Regions from separate parts of the Homo sapiens genome. Here region 2 is linked to region 1. The links are contacts of gene promoters, found by promoter capture Hi-C in human tissues and cell types (Jung and others, 2019). All regions are on one chromosome and are shown on one strand. The core of a region is centred on a gene start or on the middle of the fragment in contact, and the rest is flanking DNA. Distances in the headings are between cores, read along the strand shown.

Region 1 (3,530 bases), core at 280-2,779:
GGTACCTGCAGTGAGTCGTAGACCTCAGGCCGTGCCGGGTGGTAGGAACTCGCGATGAGGGCTTTCCTAGCTGCTGACTCCTGCCCCAGCCGCTGCCGCCGCTCCACCTCCTGCTCAAGCTGGGGTGGCACAGGGTTGTTACCAGGTGGGGCCTCCCATCCTCCTGAGGCCACTGTACAGATGAAGAAACTGAAGCCCAGAACGCCAGACAGGGCCCAGGCTGGAAGCCAAGTCTAGCCTACACTCCTGAATCTATCTGGGTCAACTGCAAGTTCCAGACTGTTAGCTGAAAGGGACTTCTAGAAGGGGACCCATCCTGTTTCAGGCTGCCCCAACCTGAGCCTAGCTGGGATGAGAACCCCTAGATGTACCTCAACCATCTGGGCCCACACAGGGACAGGAGACAGTCATGGCCAAGTCCTGTGTTCCAGAGGTTGCTGAGGACTCTCCTGGGAAGCTTCCCACCACTGACTCCAGGGGAAGGAGGAGGAGGGAGTGGGGCAGCAGCCCTGGCAGCAGCCTGCGGGGTATATGGTAAGGTGTGAGGAGCCCAGGGGCCTGGAAGCTGTGGCTGGGATCACATCTGCTCCTGCTGTAAAAGCTTGGGCAAGGGATCCCTCTTTAAGCCTCAGCTTCTCAATCCAAAATGAGAGTGGTGCTTGTGCTTATCTCACAGAGCTGTTAAGAACGGCATGACTAGGCAACTTAGCAACTTAGCATTTCCCCTTCTCTCTCCTGGTGCCAAGACTCAGGTGTGGAGGGATGAGTGGGGGGCAGGAAGGAGGAAAGTGAGGGCCTAAGTGACCCTTCAGGGATCAGGGACTGAGGCTAGGCTCAAGCTGTGTCCTCAAGCTGCGGACACAAATCTAACGAGGAGGAGCTGTGCAGGGGCAGGGGACTGGTACCTCTGCTAACAGCTGCTGGAAGTCCTTGGCGCTAACACAGCCTCGGCTGCGCAGGATCTGGGAGCAGAAAGAACACTGAGCATGACTGTATGACCTGAGGAAATCCCTTCACTCTCTAAGCCTCAGTTTCCCCTGCTTAAAATGGGGAGAGGAGCCCCGACCTCAAAGGATCATGGAGAGAATGAACTGCGGAACCCTGTCAAGCTCAGGACAGGGCTCCGGGCTGGTGTTGCTGTGAGGCGGCAAGCTGAGCCCGGCCCTGTCCTAAGCACCCTACATGCTTGTTCATTCCTTCCTCACAATCTCACAGGGAGATACTATTACCCCTTTACGGTGAGAAAACCGAGGCAGAGAGAGGCCGTCATTCTTGTATTTGAAGATACGGTGCGCGGCGTGCGCAAAGCAAACGACCCTGGGGACGAACTTCCCTCCTCCACTACCCCTCTCTGCCCACTGCTCCGTAGGGACGACAGCGGCCACTCACCGGGCCGTAGTCCCGGCGCAGCTGCTGCTCGCCTCGGAAGCGCACGTGCAGCCCATAGCGCGCCACGTACAAGTTATCGGTGCAGAAGCAGGCGCAGCGGCAGAAGTGCCGCGGAGCCCCCACCGTCGCCATAGTGAAGCACCCACAGCCCTACCAGCTTCCGTAGAGAGACTTCGGGCACGCCCCCAACCGCGGGAGGCGCGGAACCAGCGGCCAAGGGGCCGCTCTAAGTTCCCAAGGGCGGAAAAGGACGAAGACGCACCTCGCCAGGAAACGGTCTGCGGAGAAAGATGCTCCTGGGCCGGGTTGGGACCGGCGGCCTCCTCGTTCCGCCTCCCAGTTTTCCCACTACGAGGCAGGGACTAATGGCTCCACTTTACAGACAGCTGAACTGGGTCGTGCCTTCACAGGACGGGGAGAGGAAGGGACTCGGAGCCCCAAGGCCTTTGACTTAAACGCCGACCCACCCCCCGCCGTCTGCCCGGAGCTCGTGGAGAACCAGCCGAGCTGAGGACAGTTTAAAGAGCTCGGAGGTCCGACTAGTTCCCGCTGGTGCTTCAATCATCCAGCCCTGTACGTTTCAGTTTGGATTTAGCATCTACCCCGGGTCCCTGCCTGGCGCTTCCGGTCCCTCCGCCACAGTCTGTTGGATTACCTCAGATTGCCCCAGTGAGTGTCTCCACCAAAACGCTCCGTCTCGCATTACTTCCGGTGGCGTTCCCAATGGACGCGGGAGGGCGGGGTCAGGTGTGGGAGGGCGACGGGGCGTGGTCTCACCGCAGCCAACAAATGACAACTCTTGCAGACCGAGCCTCTTCTCTCCCCGGACCTTTGCTCAGGAATCTACCAGCATTAAACCTTTGAGCTAGGTACTATTATATCACCGTCTTACAGATGAGGAAACTGAGACCCAGAGAGGCACAGGGACCCGCCGCAGGTCACACATCCAGTAAGGGGCAAATATGGCGTTTGAACCCTACAGAGTTCCCCAGTTAACCACCACAGGGCTTCTGGGAGTGGTGGAAGTATGTGGGATTTGGGGTTTTCTCGTGCAGAGCTGCCCGGCCCGAGAAGGTGTTTAACGTTTTACAGTCGTCTTGATTGCCCAGTGATAGTGAGAGGCCCTGCTATCTAGGAAAGGATCCATTTCCCCAGATCAATGTTCATTACCCGCCTAACTGCCCTTTTTCCCCAGGAGGCCCAGGGCAGGTCGGCTCCCCAGCCACCCACCAGGCAGGCCTGGCACATGCAGCACCCCACCCCACCCTCACCCCCTCTCCGTTTGCAGCAGTTTGCAAGATGAGTGTGTTGTACCTATCAGTTTATTTATTTGTTTATTTACTTTTTGAGATAGAGTTTCACCCAGGCTGGAGTGCAGTGGCGCGATCTCCGCTCACTGCAACCTCTGCCTCCCGGATTCAAGCAGTTTTCCTGCCTCAGCCTCCCGAATAGCTGGGATTATCGGCAGGCGCCACCACGCCCAGCTAATTTTTTTGTTTTTTGTTTGTTTGTTTGTTTGTTTTGAGACGGAGTCTTGCTCTGTCGCCCAGGCTGGAGTGCAGTGGCACGATCTCGGCTCACTGTAAGCTCTGCCTCCCGGGTTCACGCCATTCTCCTGGCTCAGCCTCCCGAGTAGCTGGGACTACAGGCGCCCGCCACCACACCCGGCTAATTTTTTATGTTTTTAGTAGAGACGGGGTTTCACCGTGTTAGCCAGGATGGTCTTGATCTCCTGACCTCGTGGTCCCCCTGCCTCGGCCTCCCAAAGTTTTTGTTTTTTTTTTTTTTTTTTTTTTTTTTTTTTTCTTTTTTTGAGACGGAGTCTCGCTCTGTCGCCCAGGCCGGACTGCGGACTGCAGTGGCGCAATCTCGGCTCACTGCAAGCTCCGCTTCCCGGGTTCACGCCATTCTCCTGCCTCAGCCTCCCGAGTAGCTGGGACTACAGGCGCCCGCCACCGCGCCCGGCTAATTTTTTGTATTTTTAGTAGAGACGGGGTTTCACCTTGTTAGCCAGGATGGTCTCGATCTCCTGACCTCATGATCCACCCGCCTCGGCCTCCCAAAGTGCTGGGATTACAGGCGTGAGCCACCGCGCCCGGCCTTGTATTTTTAGTAGAAACGGGATTTCGCCATGTTGGCCA
Region 2 (5,977 bases), core at 1,615-4,114, 150 kb before region 1:
GTATCTGTTCCCGGCCTCCCTCCTAGCTGCTGGTGGTTGCAGGCCATTCTTGGCATTCCTTGACTTGAAGACACATAATTCCAACCTCTGCCTAAGTTGTCACATGGTTGTCTCCCTCTGTGTCTATCTGCCTCTGTGACTTTTCTCTTATAAGGACACCAGTCATTGGATTTAGGGCTCACTCTACTCCAGTGCAACCTCACCTTAACTAATGACATCTGCAGTGACCCTATTTCCAAGTAAAGTCACATTCTGAGTTTCTGACAAGGATATGAGTTTTGGGAGGACATTCTTCAACCCATATAATCTCCATATTTGTTGAATGAATGAATGAATGTGAAAGCCATCCTCACATGTCTGCTCAGGTGTATTGATGTAGAATAGAAGGTGGGGATGTCTCTGGTGCCCTAGGCATGTGAGGGTGGGGTGGGGGACAGCACCAGGATCATCCCCTTTTCCTGTCCAAGCCTCTCCTATTTCTGGCCTCTACACCCTAAGCTTAGCACCCTGGCCACCTCCTGACTCAGCCAGTTTTTCAGGTAGAAGCAATTACATTTATTACAGGGAAGGCTGTTCTCACCTTCCTTTCTGCCCAGCATCTCAAAACTCTTTTTTTTTGAGATGGAGTCTCGCTCTGTCACCCAGGCTGGAGTGCAGTGGTGCGATCTCGCCTCATTGCAAGCTCCGCCTCCTGGGTTCACGCCATTCTCCTGCCTCAGCCTCCTAAGTAACTGGGACTACAGGCGCCCGCCACCACGCCCGGCTAATTTTTTGTATTTTTAGTAGAGATGGGGTTTCACCATGTTAGCCAGGATGGTCTTGATCTCCTGACCTCGTGATCCGCCCGCCTCGGCCTCCCAAAGTGCTGGGATTACAGGCGTGATTGCCGGGCCAATCAAAGCTTTCTTTTGTTTCTCTTCCCCTTCCCCTTGGAGCCAAGAAGGACACAAGGATGGCTCGGTGGCCTTGGGCAAATGACCCTGCCCCCAACCTTAGCTTCTGTTTGCAAATGAAGGAGGCAGAGCTGGGTGTTTCCAAAGGTCTTTTGCATCTATAATTATCTCTACTGTTTTACTGCTGAGATAATTGTGGGCCAGGAAAGTGTGCCCTTCCGTCCCACACAAGGCAGGACTGAAATCCATAGGCCCTCATTTCCAGCCTGTCCCCAAATGCTCTGTGCCATCTCCTGGAAGCCCTCTGGGATTAGCATGATTCATATGTGGTTCCCTGGGGTCCTCACTGTGCCCTGTGTGTGACACATTAATTCACAAGTACTACTGGCCTGGGCGACTTATCGAGACCCCATCTCTGCAGAAAATTTTAAAAATTAGCTGGGTATGGTGGTGTGTACCTGTAGTCCCAGCACTTGGGAGGCCAAGGCGGGAGGATCACTTGAGCCCAGGAGTTTGTGGCTGCAGTGAGCTATGATCGTACCACTGCACTCCAGCTTGGGCAACAGAGCAAGACCTCATCTCAAAAAAAAAAAAACGCAAAACAAAATTCACAAGTACTAGCCTGCCATTCAGATGGTATGCAGGAGTGTGCATGTTCATGTGTGTGTGTTGTTTTCCCCGTGTTCCTCTCCCCTCTGTTTCCTCTGTAGGCAAGAACTCTATGCATTTTTCTGTGTCTCTGTGTTCCCCCAGTACAAGTACCCAGCACAGGACTCATTATGCTGGGTTGTGGGCCAGCCTCAGAAACATAAATATTAGGAGATCTACTAAAAGAAAAAAGAGAAAAATATACAAATAAAACAACTACTGTGCTTTCAGTTGATGCCAGAAAAGCATTTGATAAAGTTCACTATCCATTTAATTTTTTTTTTTTCTTGAGACGGAGTCTCTCTGTTGCCCAGGCTGGAGTGCAGTGGCGCAATCTCGGCTCACTGCAAGCTCCGCCTCCCGGGTTCACGCCATTCTTCTGCCTCAGCCTCCTGAGTAGCTGAGACTACAGGCACCCGCCACCATGCCCAGCTAATTTTTTTTGTATTTTTAGTAGAGATGGGGTTTCACCGTGTTAGCCAGGATGGTCTCGATCTCCTGACCTCGTGATCCGCCCGCCTCGGCCTCCCAAAGTGCTGGGATTACAGGCGTGAGCCACCACGCCCGGCCTATCCATTTAATTTTTTTAGAGACAGGACTCCCATGTTGCCCAGGCTGGCCTTGAACTCCTGGGCTTAAGGGATTCCCCTGCCTCAGCCTGCCGAGTAGTTGGGACTACAAGTGTGCGCCACCATGCCTAGCCTCATTACTCCTTTTTTTGAGATTGAGTTTCGCTTTTGTTGCCCAGGCTGGAGTGCAATGGCAGTGATCTTGGTTCACTGCAATCTCTGCCTCCCGGGTTCAAGCAATTCTTCTGCCTCAGCCTCCTGAGTAGCTGTAATTACAGGTGCCCACCACCACACCTGGCTAATTTTTGTATTTTTAGTAAAGACGGGATTTCGCCATGTTGGCCAGACTAATCTTGAACTCCTGACCTCAGGTGATACGCCCTCTTGGCCTCCCAAGTGCTGAGATTACAGGCGTGAGCCCACTGGCCCCAGCCTCATTAATCTTAAAAACGTAGAGACTGAGGGATAGGCAAATATTTCAACATGATAAAGAATATCTCCCATCGGTAGCTACTTTATCTTTTTTTTTTTTTTTTGATATCGAGTCTCACTGTATTGCCCAGGCTGGAGTGCAGTGGCGCGATCTTTGCTCACTGCAACCTCTGTCTCTGGGTTCAAATGATTCTCCTGCCTCAGTCTCCCGAGTAGCTGGGATTACAGACGTGTGCCACTATGGCCAGCTAATTTTTTGTATTTTTAGTAGAGGCGGGGTTTCAACATGTTAGCCAAGATGGTCTCGATCTTCTGACCTTGTGATTTGCCCCCCTCAGCCTCCCAAAGTGCTGAGATTACAGGCATGAGCCACTGCGCCTGCCCCCCCACCTTTTTTTTTTTTTTTTTTTAACTTGAGACGGGGTCTTGCTCTGTCACCCAGGCTGGAGTGCAGTGGCGTGATTTAGCTCACTGCAACCTCCACCTCCTGTGCTCAAGTGATTCTCCCACCTCAGCCTCCTAAGTAGCTGGGACTACAGGTGTGAGCCCGCTTTTTTTTTTTTTTTTTTTTTTTTTTTTTTTTTTTTTTTTGTAGAGATGGGGTTTCGCCATGTTTACTAGGCTGGTCTTGAATGCCTGAGCTTAAGTGATCCCCCTCGGCCTCCCAAAGTGGTAGGATTATAGGCATGAGCAACCGCACTCAGATACTTTATCCTTAATAGTCAAATGCTCTAGTAGCATTTTCCAAAGTATGTTTGAGGAACACAGAATGCTCCTGGGTATTGCATCAAAAAAGCATTCCAGGGCCAAATAACATCTAGGAAGCACTGTTGCTCTAAGACACATTCCTTTTAATGTCTGTTGCAAGACAAGCATGCCTTCTCTCTCTTTAGTACTGTTCTTTATTCTAGATTCAAGCCAATGCAACAGGCTAGGAAAAAGAGGCAGGCTGGGCGCGGTGGCTCATGCCTGTAATCCCAGCACTTTGGGAGGCCAAGGCGGGCGGATCACGAGGTCAGGAGATTGATACCATCCTGGCTAACGCGGTGAAACCCCGTCTCTACTAAAAATACAAAAAATTAGCCAGGCGTGGTGGCGGGCGCCTGTAGTCCCAGCTACTTGGGAGGCTGAGGCAGGAGAATGGCGTGAACCCGGGAGGCAGAGGTTGCCGTGAGCCGAGATCACGCCACTGCACTCCAGCCTGGGCGACAGAGCGAGACTCCGTCTCAAAAAAAAAAAAAAAAAGAAAGAAAAAGAGGCAGGGCATAACTCTCAGATAGGAGGTTGCAAAATGAATGTTTTGAGTGGATACAGCCGTTGTCTTAGGTTTTCAAAGTAGACAAACTCAAAATTAATTAGAATAAGACAGTATGGCAGCCTGTTGCAAAATAAGTAGGCAAACACCATTGTTTTTCTATGCGTCAGTGGAAACCATTGTTGAATTTGATGGGTAGGAGCACCTCTAACACCTGTTTGCTTGGGCATCAACACGCCAGTGACCTTATTTTCTGGTTAGAAACAAGAGTAACACCCGGACAGTTCAGGCAGCTGCCAGCACCTCCTGGGTCCCCTGCGACCTGGACTCCCAGGAAATGGAGGGCAGCGGTGTAAGTGGCGTGATGCAGGGTGTTCAGCATCTCTCAGTGGGGTTATTCTGAGGACTCTTCCAGAATGTTTTGAACACATTTGTGCACCATTAAGTCGTTGTCACAGAGCCTGGAAGTCCATTATTTCAAGCTCAACTCATCCTGGATGATGGATGTGACTTGAGGAGGGATGAACCATTCGTGCATTCTCCAAGGGCAGGGCTCTCAGAAATTCCCTGTAGCTTTGTGGTCCCTTGCCCTGGCATCCCCTAGACCACCATGCTGAGGGCAGTGTTTGGACGAGACCCCAGTGAACAGAGCCTGGTTGTTGGAAGTAAATCTTTTGCTCCTGCTGGAAACCAGAGAACAGACACTGCTTCATCACTGCTGTCATTCATGCAAGCTTCATCACATTTTCCCAGTCATTATCCTGATCTTTCTCAAAGGCAATTCTTGCCTCTCTTTCAATCAACAGAGAACCCTAGAGATAATTCAGTCTTTGAGGGATTGCTGAGTCATTCAGCTGACTGGGGCTACCATGATGAAGCTGAAGTTCCAATGTCATGAATCAGGCTGTTCTCGGAGGCCACGGAAGGGGTGGATGGATGTGTGTCTGCCAGCTGTCCCACAGGCTGAACCCATCATGCTGGCCATACTTCCTAAGTCATCCTCCCTCCTCCCTAGTTCTTTTTCTTTACTCACTCAGTGTGGTTTTGCTACTTTTAATTTTCTGCCTTATTTTAACCATAGTGGTTTGCATGACCACCAGAGGGGTCAGTGTGCAGTTCTCCTAGGACTAAAGCCCTCCAGCTTTGTGACAGCTTTTCGCCTGAAGCTTGGTGGTCTGATCTGCAAGTTGGCCCTCTTCTAAATGGTGGGAGTTGTAGTCAGCTTGCTTGCCAGACTGGATTGTGGAGAATAGTAGGGCAAGAGTGAGAGGTTAATAGGGCAAGAATTCCCAAGCTTACCCAAGGATATGCATCAATCCCTGCAGAACCCTTAGCAGTTATATTCAACTCACTGAAGGGTCTGCTTGGTTTTTAGATCTTCTTTCTGATTCTTTAGGGATATGAGGGTCACAGGATTAAAAGGTAGAGCCTAGGCTGGGCATGGTGGCTCAAGCCTGTAATCCCAGCACTTTGGGAGGCCGAGGCAGGCGGATCACAAGGTCAGAAGATTGAGACCATCCTGGCTAACACAGTGAAACCCTGTCTCTACTAAAAATACAAAAAATTAGCTGGGCGTGGTGGCGGGTGCCTGTAGTCCCAGCTACTCCGGAGGCTGAGACAGGAGAATGGCGTGAACCTGAGAGGCGGAGCTTGCAGTGAGCCGAGATCACGCCACTGCGCTCCAGCCTGGGTGACAGTGCGAGACTCCATCTCAAAAAAAAAAAAAAAAAAAAAAACCCTAATTTTTTTTTTTTTTTTTGAGACAGAGTCTCGCTCTGTCGCCCAGGCTGGAGTACAGTGGAGTAATCTCGGCTCACTGCAACCTCGGCCTCTGGGGTTCAAGCGATTCTCCTGCCTCAGCCTCCTGAGAGCTGGGATTACAGGTGCCTGCCACCACGCCCAGCTAATTTTTGTATTTTTAATAGAGACGGGGTTTCACCTTGTTGGTCAGGCTGGTCTCAAACTCCTGACCTCGTGATCCGCCCCCCTCGGCCTCCCAAAGTGCTGGGATTACAGGCGTGAGCCACAGCGCCTGGCCTGTACCATGCATTTTCTTTGCGTTCTGCTATTCCAAAAGAAATATTAAATATTGGCATTTTAAAACATAAAATAATTAGAATTGAAATTTTAAAAACTCTTGTTAAATCTGTAGCATCAACTTAAATGAACCATCAGTGGTG

Evidence for each region. The method cuts DNA at HindIII sites, captures the fragments that hold promoters and counts their contacts. A contact is called where the count stands out against the background at its distance.
Region 2: a contact is called between a fragment that was not itself captured here and the fragment with the promoter of OGFOD2 in region 1, in 1 of the 25 tissues and cell types used here (dorsolateral prefrontal cortex).

What each region holds. Positions count from the first base shown.
Region 1 is chr12:122,973,243-122,976,772 of GRCh38, reverse strand. It overlaps OGFOD2 (2-oxoglutarate and iron dependent oxygenase domain containing 2), which reads right to left and starts at 1,529. Exons shown (of 7, transcript NM_001304833.2): 1 at 1,390-1,529; 2 at 906-962; 3 at 6-119. The coding sequence starts at 1,521. It also overlaps a transcript of ABCB9 not described here. RefSeq lists an enhancer at 1,625-2,084. The HindIII fragment of the contact is 12,569 bases long and covers 1-3,530 here.
Region 2 is chr12:123,125,421-123,131,397 of GRCh38, reverse strand. The region is part of intron 1 of PITPNM2 (phosphatidylinositol transfer protein membrane associated 2); the gene reads left to right. Among named protein-coding and RNA genes, the nearest start is that of PITPNM2, 23 kb to the left of the region's middle. RefSeq lists an enhancer at 3,139-3,750. The HindIII fragment of the contact is 4,327 bases long and covers 701-5,027 here.